Linked DNA regions of Homo sapiens: region 2 is linked to region 1. Evidence: promoter capture Hi-C in human tissues and cell types (Jung and others, 2019). All regions are on one chromosome and are shown on one strand. Each heading gives the region's core, a stretch centred on a gene start or on the middle of the fragment in contact. The rest is flanking DNA. Distances are from core to core; before and after follow the strand shown.

Region 1 (7,752 bases), core at 3,830-6,329:
TTCCTTCCTCCCTTCCTCTCTCTTTCCTTTCCTTCCTCTTTCTTTCTTTCTTTCTTTCTTTCTTTCTTTCTTTCTTTCTTTCTTTCTTTCTTTCTTTCTCTCTCTCCCTCTCTCTCCCTCCCTCCCTCCCTCTCCCTCTCCCTCTCTCTCCCTCCCTCCCTCCCTGCCTCCCTCTCTCTCTCTCTCTCTGTCTCTCTCCTTCTTATCTTGCTCTGTCACCCAGGCTGGAGTGCAGTGGTGCCATCTCGGCTCACTACAACCTCCGCCTCCTGGGTTCAAGCTAGGCTCCTTCTGCCTCAGCCTCCCAAGCAGCTGGGATTACAAGTGTGCGCCACCACGCCCAGCTAATTTTTGTATTTTAGTAGAGACGAGGTTTCACCATGCTGGCCAGGCTGATCTCGAACTCCTGACCTCAAGTCATCTGCCCTCCTTGGACTCCCAAAGTGCTGGGATCACAGGCGTGAGCCACTGTGCCCAGACTGTACACTTTTGCTTTTGGAGACAGAGTCTCACTCTGTTGCCCCAGCTCCCACGGCTCACTGTAGCCTCAACCTCCCAGGTTCAAGCGATCCTCCCACCTCAGCCCCCCAAATAGCTGTGACTACAGGCATGCGCCACCATGCCCACCTACCCTTTGTGTTTTTTGTAGAGACGAGGTATTGCTATGTTACCTAGGTTGGCATCGAACTCTTGGGATCAAGCAGTTCTCCTGCCTGGCCTCCCAAAGCGCTGGGATTACAGGAGTGAGCCACTGTGCCTGGCTGAATTGTACACTTTATTTATTTATTTATTTATTTTGAGACAGAGTCTTGCTCTGTTGCCCAGGCTGGCGTGCAGTGGCATGATCTCGGCTCACTGCAACCTCCGTCTCCTGGGTTCAAGCGATTCTCTTGCCTTAGCCTCCCAAGTAGCTGGGACTACAGGCGTGGGTCATCACGCCTGGCTAATTTTTGTGTGTGTGTGTGTGTGTGTTTTTAGTAGAGGTGAGGTTTCACCGTGTTGGCCAGGCTGGTCTTGAACTCCTGACCTCAGGTGATCACCTGCCTCGGCCTCCCAAGGTGCTGGGATTACAAGTGTGAGCCACTGCGCCTGGCCTGAATTGTACCCTTTAAATGGATGAATTTTATGGTATTTGAATTATATTTCAATAAATCTGTTAAAGAATCAATGGCCATGCTTGTGTGGGTGCACTTGTTCCATTGATCTGTCGGCTGACCCTCTGCCAATTCAGCCTGTCTCAATTGCTTTAGCTTTATGGTGAGTTAACATCCATTAGTGATGGCTGGGCACGGTGGCTCACACCTGTAATCCCAGCACTTTGGGAGGCTGAGGTGGGTGGATCACGAGGTCAGGAGATCGAGATCATCTTGGCTAACACAGTGAAACTCCGTCTCTACTAAAAATACAAAAAATTAGCCGGGCGTGGTGGCGGCCGCCTGTAGTCCCAGCTACTCGGGAGGCTGAGGCAGGAGAATGGCATGAACCCAGGAGGCAGAGCTTCCAGTGAGCCAAGATCATGCCACTGCACTCCAGCCTGGGCTACAGAGCGAGACTCAGTCTCAAAAAAAAAAAAAACCCAAAAAAACAAAAACAACAACAACAAAAACATCCATTCGTGAGAACCCTCCAACTTTTTCCCTTCTTTTTCAGAATTATTTTGGCAACTAGTTGCTTTTCATTTCTATATACATTTCAGAACAAGGTTTTCTATACCTATAAAATTTCCGACAGGAATTTTAATTGAAATTGCATTAAATCCGTAGTCGTTTTGGAGAGAATTGGTATCTTAACTATATTTGTTCTAATTCAGGAACACAGCATGCCTCTCACATATTTAGGCCTTCTTTGATTTCTTTTATCAGCATTTGGTAGTTTTCAGTATACAAATCCTGTACCAGTCTTGTTAGATTAATACCAAACGAATAAATTTACTGGGGGACCATTTTAAATAGCATTGCTTTTAAAAATTTTGGTTTTCAATTGTTCATTGCTAATATATAGAAACAGGACTGAGTTCTGTGTTTTCATCCTGCAACCTTGCAAAACTCACTTATTAGTATTCTGACTTTTTTGTTGGTAAAATTCTTGGGATTTTCGACATAGACTTTTATGTTATTTATGGATAGGGACATCTTTATTTCTTCCTTTCTAATCTGTATGCCTTTTATTTTTCTGGTTTTATTGCATGGGTTAGGACTGCCAGTACACTGTGGAACAGGAGTGAATAGAGTGGACATCTTTACCTTGTTCCTGATCTTAGGGCTCAGCATTTAGTCCTTCATTATTAAGTATCACATTAGATGCAGAGGTTTTTTTTTTTTTTTTTTTTCTTTTTTGGACAGGGTCTTCCTCTGTTGCCCACACTGGAGTGCAGTGGTGCGATCTTAGTTCACTGCAACCTCTGCCTCCCAAGTTCAAGCGATTCTCATGCCTCAGCCTCCTGAGTAGCTGGGATTACAGGTGTGTGTCACTGTACCCTGCTAATGTGTGTGTGTGTGTGTGTGTGTTTTAAGTAGAGATGGTGTTTCGCCATGTTGCCCAGGCTGGCATAGAACTCCTGAGCTCAGGTGATCTGCCTGCCTTGGCCTCCCAAAGTGCTGGGATTACAGGCGTGAGCCACCACATCCGGCCAGATTGTTTTGTATTTTTTGTAGAGACAGGGTTTCACCATGTTTCCCAGGCTGGTCTTGAACTCAAGCTCAAGCAATCCGCCCACTTTGGCCTCCCAAAATGCTGGTATTAGAGGCATGAGCCACAGTGCCTGGCCTAATTTTTTTTTTAATTAAAAATAACAGATATGGAATCTCTCCATGTTGCCCGGGCTGGTCTTGAACTCCTGGCCTCCCAAAATGTTGAGATTGCAGGGGTGAGCCACCATGCCTGGCCTGTTGTTTTTGTTGTTGCTTTTTGTAGATTCCTTTTATGAGATTAAGCATGTTCCCTTTGCTTTCTAGTTTGCTGAGAGTGTTTATCAGGGATGAGTGTTGAATTCCGTCAAATACTTTCTTTGAATTGATTGAGATGATCACATGGTTTTCTTCTTGAGACTAATATGGTGGATCACATCGATTTATTTTCACATGTTGAACCAGCCTTGCCTTTCTGGGATAGCCTCCATTTGGTTGGGGTATTTGTGTGTGTGTGTTTTTAATGCTGCTTGATTCTATTTGCTGATAATTAGTTGAGGGTTTTTGTGTCATGTTGGCATTGGCGGCTGTTGATTGTCTTTTCTCTTGCAGGTTGGATTTCCTGATTCTTCACATGCAGAGTAATTTTAGATTGTCTCCTGCACATTTAGACATTATGTTATGAGACTGGTCTTATTTAAATCCCATTGAGAATGTTGGCATTTTGTTTTATCATGCAATCAACCTAGTTGGTTTCAGGCCACAAGTTCAAATAGGCTCCTGTGGGTCCTGCCTTCCATGTCGGTTTTGTTTTCAAAGCCTTTGCAGTGGGACTCAGATCTGTCCTTCGTATGCACTGCCCAGTGGCCAGTGTGGGACGTGGGCAGTGGGCTGTCCTTTTGTTCAGTTCTCAGCCTTTGGGATGTGAATGAGGGTTTAGACTTGTACATCATGTATGGCTTGCACAACTTCCTGGGGTTGCTTTTTTTTTTTTTTTTTTTTTGAGACAGAGTCTCACTCTGTTGCCCAGGCTGGAGTGCAGTGGCAAGATCTCGGCTCACTGCAACCTCCATCTCCCGGACTCAAGCAATTCTCCTGCTTCAGCCTCCCGAGTAGCTGGGATTACAGGTGTGTGCCACCACGCCCGGCTAATTTTTATATTTTTAGTAGAGATGGGGGTTTCACCATGTTGGCCAGGCTGGTCTCGAACTCCCGACCTCAGGTAATCCGCCCACATCGGCCTCCCAAAGTGCTGGAATTACAGGTGTGAGCCACCACGCCCAGCCCATGGATTGCTTTCTACTGCTTCTCCCTGCCCACCATCTCTCCAGCGACAGGGGACCACATCTCCTGGGGCTGGAAAGGAAGGCTCTTCTGCCTCAGCGTTTTAGGTGCTTGTAAACCCTATGCCTTGGTCATGGCTTTGGTGGGATACCTAGGGGCTGGGGCATCAGAGAATGGAGAAGAGTAAAAAAACAACCACTACCAAAAAACCCCATCCTCCCAAACCCTAACATCCCCCCGGGCATTCTCCTGCACCCTGGGAGCATTAGGCGACCTTTTTCTTTCCTCCCCTTGTGCCAGGACTAGAGAACTTCTGGAGCTCTCTGTCCTCTTCTGGCTTTCAGGCCGTGTTGAGTCCAGGCCCGGGGATACGGGAAGAGAATCTGGAAGTTCACTACCAGTTGGGTGGTGCCTCAAATTCTGGTCTTTCCACCAAATCTGGTGTCCCTTTACCTCTCTGACCCTCAGTCTCCTCCTATGTCAGAGGGAAGTCACAGCAGTTCTGGGAAGGAGGGCAGGCAGGCAGAAGGTGCCCTCGGGTTCTTCTCTGGCTCACACGGGATGGACAGGATGTGGGGGGAGGGGCTTAGTGCCACCTCAGTGACAAAATGAAGCCCAAGTCCCCAAACCCTAGCTTGCCTCCTGGACGGGCTGGAGAAGAAGGTGGGGGCCGCTCATCATTCCTTTCCTCTGCCCTGAGAAGAAACCTGGGAAGGCTGGGTTTCTCCCCAAAGAGGACAGAGGGTGGCGCGGAGGGCCCCGGCGGCCAGGCCAGCCCCGCGCCTACATCCCTGTCAGCTCCTGGGCCGGTGGGCGCCTGTCCGGCTGAGTGGGGTCGCTCTAGGGGGCGGCAGCGGAGTTTCAGGGCGCGGGGGGCACTGGGCGGGACCCTGGGATTCTGGGCGGTGGGTGAGGAGGGTGGAGACGGGACTCCGCGCCTGGGGGTGCGCGAGGGCGCCCCGCTCCCCAGAGCCACCAGTCCTGCGCGCCGCCGCGCGGTGCTGTCGCCGTGGCAACCGGCGCTGCGGAGGGGGCGGGGCACCGGCACCCCCGCGCTCCCAGGTCCCCAGGTCCGGCGGGGCTCGCGGGCCGAGGGGCGCGGGGCGGGGCCTCTGGGTCGGGGGCGGTGCCGCGCGGGCGGGGGAGGGGCGCGGCGGGAGGAGCCGGCGCGGCCCCGGCAGTGGCGGCAGAGGCTGGGCGGGCGGGCCCGGGAGCGGCGCAGCATCTGCGGGCGGCGGGGTAGGCGCGGGCGCGGGCGGGACTGGCTGGGTGCGCGGCTGCGTCCGCGGAGGGGGCGGCGGGCCTGGGCGACCCTGCACCTCTGGGCCGTGGGGACTGTGGGGTGGGGCGGGGGCCGATGCGGCAGGGGTGAGGCCTGGGGCCGGCGGGGTGACGGGGACCCGGCCCTGCGTGGGGAAGCCTCGGGGGGACAAGCAGAGACGCAGCCTGCTGGGAGCGGCCCAAGCTCTGCACCGGCCCGCGGCGGGAGCACAGCAGCCCCCTCCCGCCCCTCCTCCCGGGGGCTCCGAGGGGTGGTTATGGGGCGAGGGTCCTTGCGGGGCCCGGGCAGTGAAGGGCCTGGAGGCCCCAGAGTCTGTGCCAGGTCTGAGCCGCGGGGCGTGGGGGGAGGAGGGGCCTCGGCCGGGGCCCAGGAGACCCAGGACAGGTGGGCCTGGGGCCAGGTCCCTACGGAGAGGTGGCCGGGCCGGGCTCTGGCTTGCCGGGGTAGGGGCTCCGCTAGGGGCTGGAGTCCGTCCCTTCGCCAGCGCAGAGCCCCTCGGCCCGCATCTGCCAAGTGACTGAGGATCGAGCGACAGCGTAGTGGGGCGGAGGGGCTGGAGGCACGGCCGGAAAGGGTGAGCGGCGCCGTGGCTCCCCCGCTATTTATTTGGCCCCGCCACGCGCGGAGAGGGAGGAAATTCTCAGGCTGCGGCTGCAGCTAGGGGAGGCCCAGGTGGGCCTGGAATGGGCCCAGAGAGGGCTTCCTGGGTCAGACGTGTAGATCCAGTGGACGTGAAAACCGGGTGAGTGTCCCGGTGGGACCCAGAGCGCGGGGAGGCTTGGAGGCAGGGGCATGGGCTGAGGACCCTCAAGGCACCCTCCTCGCGACCTGTCAGAGCTCCGAGGGGTGGGGGTGTCCTGTGTGTGGCTGTGGGGATCCTGGGCGGCGGGTGCTGGGTGGGGGCAGGGGTGGGAGTGCAGAGTTCAACGCTTTCCCGGATCGGTGGGGCCTGCGGTGTCACCAGGGCAGTCCGAGCGCCCGACTGTCACGGGGACATTAAATTTTATGCCTTTGTCTAGACACGGCAGTAAACGGAGCCCCAGGCCTGGGGCTGTGGAGGGGGTGAGGGGCTGGCTGGGAGTAAGCCTGTCAGTGACTTTGGGGTGGGTGCGGGTGTGCGGGCCTCCATTGTCACCCAGGTGTGCACAGGCCCAGGTGCGGGGACTCCGACAGCACGGCCATGAGGACCAGTGCCAGGTGTGTGACAGAGGTGCAGGGGCCTGTGGAAGCCCGACGGGCCTTGGTGGACGGGCTTCCCGAGATTCGAGGGCAGCCACAGGCATCGCCCTGGCGCAGAGGAGCAAAGCAGGGTGGCTCTGCCGGGGCAGAGGGTGGGGGACAACACCTCGCCAAGGCAATGCGGAGCCATGGGGAGCAGGGCAGGCAGTGGCCACGCGCCCAGGATGGTGGACAGGAGGGGAGACCGAGCCTGCCCGTGCAGGGAGGAGGGGCGTGGGGGCTGCCGGGCAGGGGCGGGGAGGCTCGGAGAGGCTTGTGGGACGGATGCATCGGGACCTGGGTGGCTCTCGGTCCGGGATCAGAAAGCCTGGGAGGGCCGAGGCCTCCTTGGGTACTCCAAGAGCGGAGGGGCAGGCCCGCCTCCCTGCCCAGTGCGGCGGCGGGGAGAGGGTATTCCCGGAACTCCGCGGAAACGGCCTGAGGCCAGCAGCGCGGGCGTGGGGTCCGGGCCGCCGGAGCCAGGAGGGAGGGCGGCGCGGGCCCAGCAGTGACAAACCCCCCCGGGCTCCGGGAACGAGCTCGGCGGGCAGAAAACGCGTCCGTTCCGTTTCCTTCCTGGCGGCGGGAACGAGGCCCGGGTGCTCTGGCGAGGCAGCAGCGCCCTCTGGAGGCCTCGCTGTGGTTCGCGGCCGCCGGTTCGCGCATGGGCGCAGGCGTGCGCGATGCCTCGGGGCCCCGGCGCGGAGACCGCGCCTGGTGGGAAGCACGCGGGGTGCGGGGGGCGGGGGGTGTTGGGGGAGGCCGCTCCAGCCCGCACCCTGATCTTGTCTCCTCCGGTCTCCCCAGGTTTCGAGCTCGCCGGGCCGTGTCGCGCCATGCCCGCTGGCTGAGCGCCGCAGGGCCTCGTCCCGCCAGGCGTGGGGGCCGCGCGCGCCCAGGCCGGGGCCCGGCGGCCGACCATGGTGCTGCCGCCCCCGGACCGGCGCCACGTGTGCCTGACCACGCTGGTGATCATGGGCAGCATGGCCGTCATGGACGCGTACCTGGTGGAGCAGAACCAGGGCCCGCGCAAGATCGGCGTGTGCATCATCGTGCTGGTGGGCGACGTGTGCTTCCTGCTGGTGCTGCGCTACGTGGCCGTGTGGGTGGGCGCCGAGGTGCGCACGGCCAAGCGCGGCTACGCCATGATCCTGTGGTTCCTTTACATCTTCGTGCTGGAGATCAAGCTCTACTTCATCTTCCAGAACTACAAGGCGGCGCGGCGCGGCGCGGCGGACCCCGTGGCGCGCAAGGCGCTGACGCTGCTGCTGTCTGTGTGTGTGCCCGGCCTGTTCCTGCTGCTCGTGGCGCTGGACCGCATGGAGTACGTGCGCACCTTCC
Region 2 (7,752 bases), core at 1,943-4,442, 1.0 Mb after region 1:
AAGTCCTTGAGGAAGGGGGTGGGTGAGGAGCCCTTGATGTCTTACAAATGAAGGAGCCAAATGGAGTCTGTTCCAGCTTCCTGAGCTAAGGGAGAGTCTATTCATATTAAAACAAGATAAGGTATCACAAGCTCTCCTCAAAGTCACAGGTGAGAGTCCAAACTTTGTGACAGTGTGAGAAGCATAAGATCAGCTCTACATCAACATCCCATTGGAGAAAACTAGTATTATTCCCTTCATGACTAATGCCTGCTTCATTTTCCAAATGCCTCCATGCACAGAAGACAGCAGGATTTTCCAGGCAATAGTGAGTGAGGAAGACCCCTCAGCCTACCCAGCTCCTGCGGACCTGAGCCTTGGAATTTAGACTACAGAAAACACATCCTCTGTTTTCAGGAAAGAGAAGAAGAAAGGGATCTGTGAGAATCAAGTCTACTGGGAAGGAAAATGGATTAGCAGAAAGAGGGTCAACTGAATCAGTCTGAGTCAGATGTGCCCAGTTTCACAAGATGAAGGGGGATTGCTGTGAAAACCATCAGGTTTTAAGAACCCTGACCCTGGGTGAGCCTCTCTCTTGGCTCCCATCAGAACTCAAAGCCTGTTCTAATCAGAGATTCCCATGGAGGTCTCTGCCCTGAGTCTAATTGGAAAACATTCCCCAGGTTTCCCTGGGATTCCTCAAAACTCTCACCCTGTTGACCACGAAAGGATTATTTCTGCCCCCAAAGTGACACTGTGGCTTCTGTGGAGGTGAGGATGTGTCCTCCTGTTTTAAAAAAAAAAAACAGACACAAAAAGGAAAAAAAAGGTTGCATTTAGAGACATCAAATATTAGTACAGGATTGTAAATCTGGAGAAGTTCCCCGGGGAAATTTGACAATGAGGCCGCCCCAGGCCATCACAGGAAGCCAGCCCTCAGCAGCACCTGCACCTGCCCTGGAGACAGCCCCGTGCTCAGTGTGCTGTCGCCCCCTGGTGGTCCCAAGGGACCCCTGCAGGGAGGTTTGTGTCTGGGCTCACACTGACTTCCCCTCACTGTGTCTCTCGCACAGTAATAAACAGCCGTGTCCTCGGCTCTCAGGCTGTTCATTTGCAGATACAGTGAGTTCTTGGCGTTGTCTCTGGAGATGGTGAATCGGCCCTTCACAGAGTCTGCGTAGTATATGGTACTACCACTACTACTAATGTATGAAACCCACTCCAGCCCCTTCCCTGGAGCCTGGCGGACCCAGTTCATTTCATAACTACTGAAGGTGAATCCAGAGGCTGCACAGGAGAGTCTCAGGGACCCTCCAGGCTGTACCAAGCCTCCCCCAGACTCCACCAGCTGCACCTCACACTGGACACCTGCAAACAAAGAGACACCAAGGTCAGAAACTGCCACACATATCCACTGTTTCTCTCACTCATATCCACACACACTAAATCTCTCTAGTTTTCCATGAATCACCTTCTAAAATAGCAACAAGGAAAACCCAGCACAGCCCCAACTCCATGGTGAGTCCTCTGTGTTCAGTGCTGATCACCAAGTGGAAATGCCTTGGAATCCAGGGCTAAGGCACCTCTCTGAGAGCTGCAGGGTCAGGGTTGGGTTGGTTTTCATCAGTAGAGGGAGGGCCCTATTTGCATATCTCCTACTATATAGCAAGCTCTAGGGTGGGACCCTTGAGGAGTAGGCTGTACCCAGATAAGACGACGGTGCCCTGTAGAAGTTTGCTGGCAATGATTGCATTTGGAAAATATGCTGTCTTATTATGAAATTGTGCTGTGATAAACACTTTGCACTAATCACCCTATTTCATTTTAAATATTCATGTAAACTATGTTCTGTAGGAGACAATATTTTCTCCATTTACAGAAGTGGAAGTAAACCCACACATGGGGGGGCTCTGTATGCGTCTCGGAGCTCATGTCTGGGATGAGTGAACCCCGGTATCTGGCCCTGTGCTCTTCATCACTGTCTCTGACATCCCCCTAAACCAACTCCAGGACAAAGCTGGATGTGTCTAGTGTTTTTATCAGAACCCACATTCCGTAATAAGAGCATGTGTGGTTTTGCTGCCCTCCAGCACTCTTCTGAAAATATGGAGAGAACTAGGATCCAGGCACATTAATTTTCAGGTACTTCTGACATTGAACTTATTTTTTCTGTCTTTCTATTACTCTTTCCTTGTCTAAGTTTCCATTTGTTTGCTTGTAAGACATTTTATGAGGCTTAATTGAAAGATAATAAACTTCACATATTTAAAATGTACAACTAATAAAAATGATGTAACTGCTATCATTACCAAGAAAGTGGACAAGTGAATTCTTCTCAACATTTCCCCTTGTTCTGCTGTATTCCTCCTCCTCTCCCCCTCCCTTCTTCTACCATTACCCCAGGCAACTACTTATCTTCATTATTTTACTTCAGATGCATTTTTATTTATCAGAATTTATAAAAATGAAATTACATAGTATATATTCTTATTTGTTTAGCTTATTTTACTCAACATAAATACTTAGATATTTTACCTTGTTGCTCTGTGTATCAGGCATTAATTTATTATAAATGACGGGTAGTATTCCAGTGAACACATTTACCATAATTTGTTTTTCTATTAAGAAGCTTAACAATATTTGTCTGGGCGGCAAGCCACCCAGGTGCTGAGGCAAGAGACTGAGGGCACAAGCTGTTCCAGTGTAATGAAGAGAATATGTAAAATAAGAATAGTTGTACTAGAAATAGGTTATAGATATGATTATATATGAATATCATTAATCATCAGTCTGTAGCATTACTCTTTATTCCAACATTATAATAATCCTTGCTCTACAATTATAACCTAGGAAAAACCAGGCCATACAGCAATAGGAGCTGAAGGGACACAGTGAGAAGTGACCAGAAGACAGGAGTGTGAGCCTCTGTCACGCCCGGACAGGGCCACTAGAGGGCTCCTCGGTCTAGCGGTAGCGCCAGTGCCTGGGAAGGCACCCATTACCCATTACTTAGAAGACCTGGAAAGGGAGTCTCCCTTTCCCCGGGGGAGTTAGAGAAGACTCTGCTCCACCACCTCTTGTGGAAGGCCTGACATCAGTCAAACCTGCCCGCAGCCCTCCAGAGGCCTAAACGTCTCTCTGTGATGCTGTGCTTCAGCGGTCACACTCCTGTTTCACTTTCATGTTCCACTCTGTACACCTGGCTCCGCCCTCTAGATAGCAGTAGCAGAATTAGTGAAAGTATTAAAGTCTTTGATCTTTCTGAGAAGAGAATGGAATAAATAATGACCTAAGCTGTCCTCTCTCTCTCTCCGCCTCGGCTGCCAAACAGGGAAGTGCCCTCTGTCTGGTGGACACGTGACCCACATGACCTTATCAATCATTGCAGATGACTCACACTCCTTACCCTTCCCCTTTTGCCTTGTATCCAATAAATAACAGCGGAGCCAGGCATTCGGGGCCACTTCTAGTCTGTGTCTTGGTGGTAGTGGTCCCCTGGGTCCGGCTGTTTTTTCTTCTATCTCTTTGTCTTGTGCCTTTATTTCTACGATCTCTCATCTCTGCACATGGGGAGAAAGATCCACAGACCCTGTAGGGCTGGCCCCTACATATTTGCATTCTTTTTTTACTCTGGGTCTTATTAAAAATTCTTCTACACAGCTTGGAAATGTACATAGATGAATAATATATTTTACTTATGTTTTACAACAACAGTATCAACAAAAATAGATAAACAGAGGAGCTGGAATTTTGGAATTTTTTTTTTTGAGACAGAGTCTCACTCTGTCGCCCAGGCTGGAGTGCAATGGTACGACTTGCAAACTCTGCCTCCTGGGTTCAAGCTATTCTCCAGTATCAGCCTCCCAAGTAGCTGGGATTACAGGTGCCTGCCACCATGCCAAGCTATTTTTTTTTTGTATTTTTAGTAGAGACAGGTTTTACCATGTTGGCCAGGGTGGTCTCAAACTCCTGACCTCAGGTGATCCACATACCTCAGCCTCCCAAAGCGTTGGGATTACAGGTGTGAGCCACCACAACTGGCCATTTTTTAAAAATAATACTTTAGATACTTGAAGTTTTAAGATAAACAGCAAATGTGAAATCTAGGGAGAGGCAAGTTCTTGTAAAGAGTAACAAAGCTGGGGTATGAGCTGAACTGAGGCAGAGTATGGCATGTAAAATGTAGGCTATTACAAGATGAAAACACACATATATATTGGATTGCTTGAAGTCAAGTGTGGTAAATGTGTTGTAGGGTGAATTTCTTAGGGACCACAGACTGAAGAGTTTTCCTATCCTATTGAATCCTTTTTCCCCAAAATGGGGACAGTCACCAAAATTGTTCTGTCCCATTGTGTCTGTCTAGGAGAGAAAAAGTGCCCACCCTTCTGAAAAGCGTTCAGACCCACCTTCCATATCCCCACTGGAGAACAAAGAAATTATTCTGGAGGGGCAAGCCACCAAAACCAGTATCTTAGGGGCACTGGGGCAATCCCTTAGGAACTGAGATGGGAAAAGAGGTCTTCACCTAAGTTCCATTGAGAAGTATCTCCCCTCCTTCTTATTTAATCAGAGCCTTAATCTGCAGTTCTAGTCAGCAAATCTGTAAGGTGATAACACCGAAAGAGAACGTTGGAGCTGTGGGAGGGAACAACTGGGGAAAACAAGAGGACTCCACAGCAGGGAAAAGAGCAAGAACACACAGACCAACATCTCATCTGGAGGAAGTTCAGAAACATTGGGAAGGTCACACCCAGACTCATGTTCACAATATGAACCCAGGAAAGGTCAGAAAATCTCCCTTTATTCTATTGCTTTCCACCAATTTCACAATTGTCAGTTAAATAACATTTAAATCCACCTGAGGGAGCTGAACATGATTCTCTGGAGGAGGGAACAGGTGAAGAGACAAAGCCAAGCAGGAAAGAAAAACAAGATATCACTGGAGGATCTGAAGTCTCTGGTGGACACAGAAGAACAGACTTCAACTTTGATGTCCACTGCAAAAGTGAATGTCAAATATAGTTCTGAGAAGATTCACAGATACTTCCACAGTAAAGGCCTGGCAAAGGTAAAGTGTGGTCAAATACAGGCAGAAATGCATAAAATGAAATAATAAGCCAGTATCCACTGTCCATCCCAGTATCTGTGGCTATCAACAATTATTACATACATTAATGAGAAGTACCAAAGTCGTAATAAACAAATGATCAGCATGAGATTTGTAGATGAAACAGATATTATAAATATCTAATTAAACAAGATATGTAAAGTAACTATGATTCATATGCAAGAATCTCTTAAAGAAATCGTGGACATAGATAGGGAACTGAAATATGAAAATACTAAGAATAAATCAAATGGAAATGCGTAAGAAATCAAAAGCAATGCTGTATGAACATCGAGCAATCTTTTGGCACACACCTCAGTAGAGCTGGCTCAGCTTTTCAATAAAACCATGTGATTAGTATGTCACTAGAAATTTCACAAAGTAAATTGCAAACGAAAAGAGAGTGAAGAAAGAAACTAAACATTAATATCAAAATTATAGTATGTGTATATTTTAAATCTGAGAAGGAGAAATTATAAATACACAGAAACTATTTGAAAAAGATAATAGCGAAGAATGTTCCCAATTTTGTGAAAGAAACTGAACTACAGATCCTAGAAGCAAAGAGAACCCCAAACAGAGTAAATAAAAACAAACACATGAACCACACATCCACCAAGGACACAGTGGTGCACAAGAAAAAGCTCACACATCACACACCACACACACATTTTCTCAGCTTTATTCTTTTTACTTAGTTGTTTTAAAATTATTTATATTTATAGTATTAAGTAGTAGTCTAAAATTAAAAGATATTATCCTATGCATAACTCTGTCTATGCATACCATTATCAAATACACGATTTGGTGCAAATGAATGTAACTACATTGTTAGTTAATTAACTATTTCAAAGAAAAATGGTATTTATTCCTGTCTCTGTGTTGAATCATTTGTAATGTACGCCAATATAATTCTTTTTAATTAAAGGATTTTTCAAAGTTGGCACATAATAACTGCTTATGTTTATGGGATACAGTGTGATATTTGAATACATGTGTGCCACTTGGTATGACCAAAATCAGAACAATGAGCAAATTCGTCAGTTCAGACACTAACATTTATTTGTGTTGGTAGCATAGAAAATTCTCTCTTCTGGCTTCTTGTAAACAGAAAACGTACAATATATTGTTAACTGTAGTCACCCTACTGTGCTGTAGAACACTAGAGCACATCCCTCCTGTCTACCTGTAATTGTGTGTTTGTTAACAAACCTCTTCTTATCTCTCAGCCTTCTCTCATTCCTGGCATCTCATCACCACTACTCTACTATTTACTTCTAGAAGTAACGCTGAGAAATGCGGTATTTATTTTTCTGTGTCTGACTCATTTCACTCAACATAGTGGTGTCCCATTCCATCCATGTTGCTTTAAATGGCAGAATTTCATTGTTAAGGCTGAATAATATTCCATTGTGTAAATATATCACATTTTATGTATCCATTCATCTGTTGATGGACACATATGTTGATTTCATATCTTAGAAATTGTGATTAGTGCTGCAATAAACATGGGTGTACAGGTATCTCTTCAATATTAGTTTTTTCTTTTAAATATTTAAATAGATATATACTTAGCAGTTGGATTGCTGGAATATATGGTAGTTCTATTTTTTTCCCTTGATGGCTGCACTAATTTACATTTCCACCAGTGGTCTATGAGTTTTACTTTCTAGGCATCCTGGCCAGCTTTTAATAAGTATGTATGTATGTATTTGTTTTTCAGATAACAAACTTTCTAGCAGAGATGAAGGGTGAAAAGACATCTCATTATGAATTTGCATTTTCCTGAATATTAGTGTATATATATGTATGTATGTATACTAATAGGTCTATCTATCTATCTGTCTGTCTATGATCTATTTGCCCTTTGCAAGGCTCTTTTTTTTTTTTTTTGAGATGGAGTTTCACTCTTGTTGCCCAGGATGGAGTGCAATGGCGCAATCTCAGCTCACTGCAACCTTCACCTCCTGGGTTCAAGTGATTCTCCTGCCTCAGTCTCCCTAGCAGCTGGGTATACAGGCGCCCACCACCACGCTCAGCTAATTTTTTGTAATTTTTTTTTTTGAGATGGAGTTTCCCTCTTGTTGCCCAGGCTGGAGTGCAATGGTGCCATCTCAGCTCACCGCAACCTCCACCTCCCAGGTTCAAGTGATGCTCCTGCCTCAGCCTCCCGAGTAGCTGGGATTACAGGCGCATGCCACCATGCCCAGCTAATTTTGTACTTTTAGTAGAGACAGGGTGTTCTTTATGTTGGTCAGGCTGGTGTCGAGCTCCTAACCTCAGGTGATCTGCGCAACTTGCCTCCCAAATTGCTGGTACTACAGACATGAACCACCACACCCGTTGAGCTTATTTCACATGCTTGGTAGTAATCCTTTGTCATATTAATAGTTTTCAATATTGTCTATCATCTGCAGGTCCTCTCTTAACTCAATTGTTTCCTTCAGTGTGCAGGAGCTACTCTTTCTTGATAGAACCTGGACAGGTGTGCTGAGGTGCTCTGGGACATTGGAGGGGAAGAGATGGACCCAATATCCAGAACCAGGTGACTTTTACTCACCATGTAGTTCTGAGTTTATGGTTTGAGCAGATGCAGAAATTTGTCCAGGACTTCTGGGGGGTAAAGAATTTGAAGGGAGAATGATATAGCTTATTAGTCAAAT

Evidence for each region. Contacts are between HindIII fragments. The study calls those that stand out against the background at their distance.
Region 2: a fragment that was not itself captured here is called in contact with the fragment with the promoter of TMEM121 in region 1 in 1 of the 25 tissues and cell types used here (lymphoblastoid cells).

The regions. Positions count from the first base shown.
Region 1 is chr14:105,521,504-105,529,255 of GRCh38, forward strand. TMEM121 (transmembrane protein 121) reads left to right here and starts at 5,080. Exons shown (of 2, transcript NM_025268.4): 1 at 5,080-5,150; 2 at 7,219-7,752. The coding sequence starts at 7,332. RefSeq lists a silencer at 6,738-6,947. The HindIII fragment of the contact is 20,488 bases long and covers 1-7,752 here.
Region 2 is chr14:106,536,770-106,544,521 of GRCh38, forward strand. It overlaps IGH and IGHV3-48. Among named protein-coding and RNA genes, the nearest start is that of LINC00221, 58 kb to the left of the region's middle. The HindIII fragment of the contact is 5,443 bases long and covers 472-5,914 here.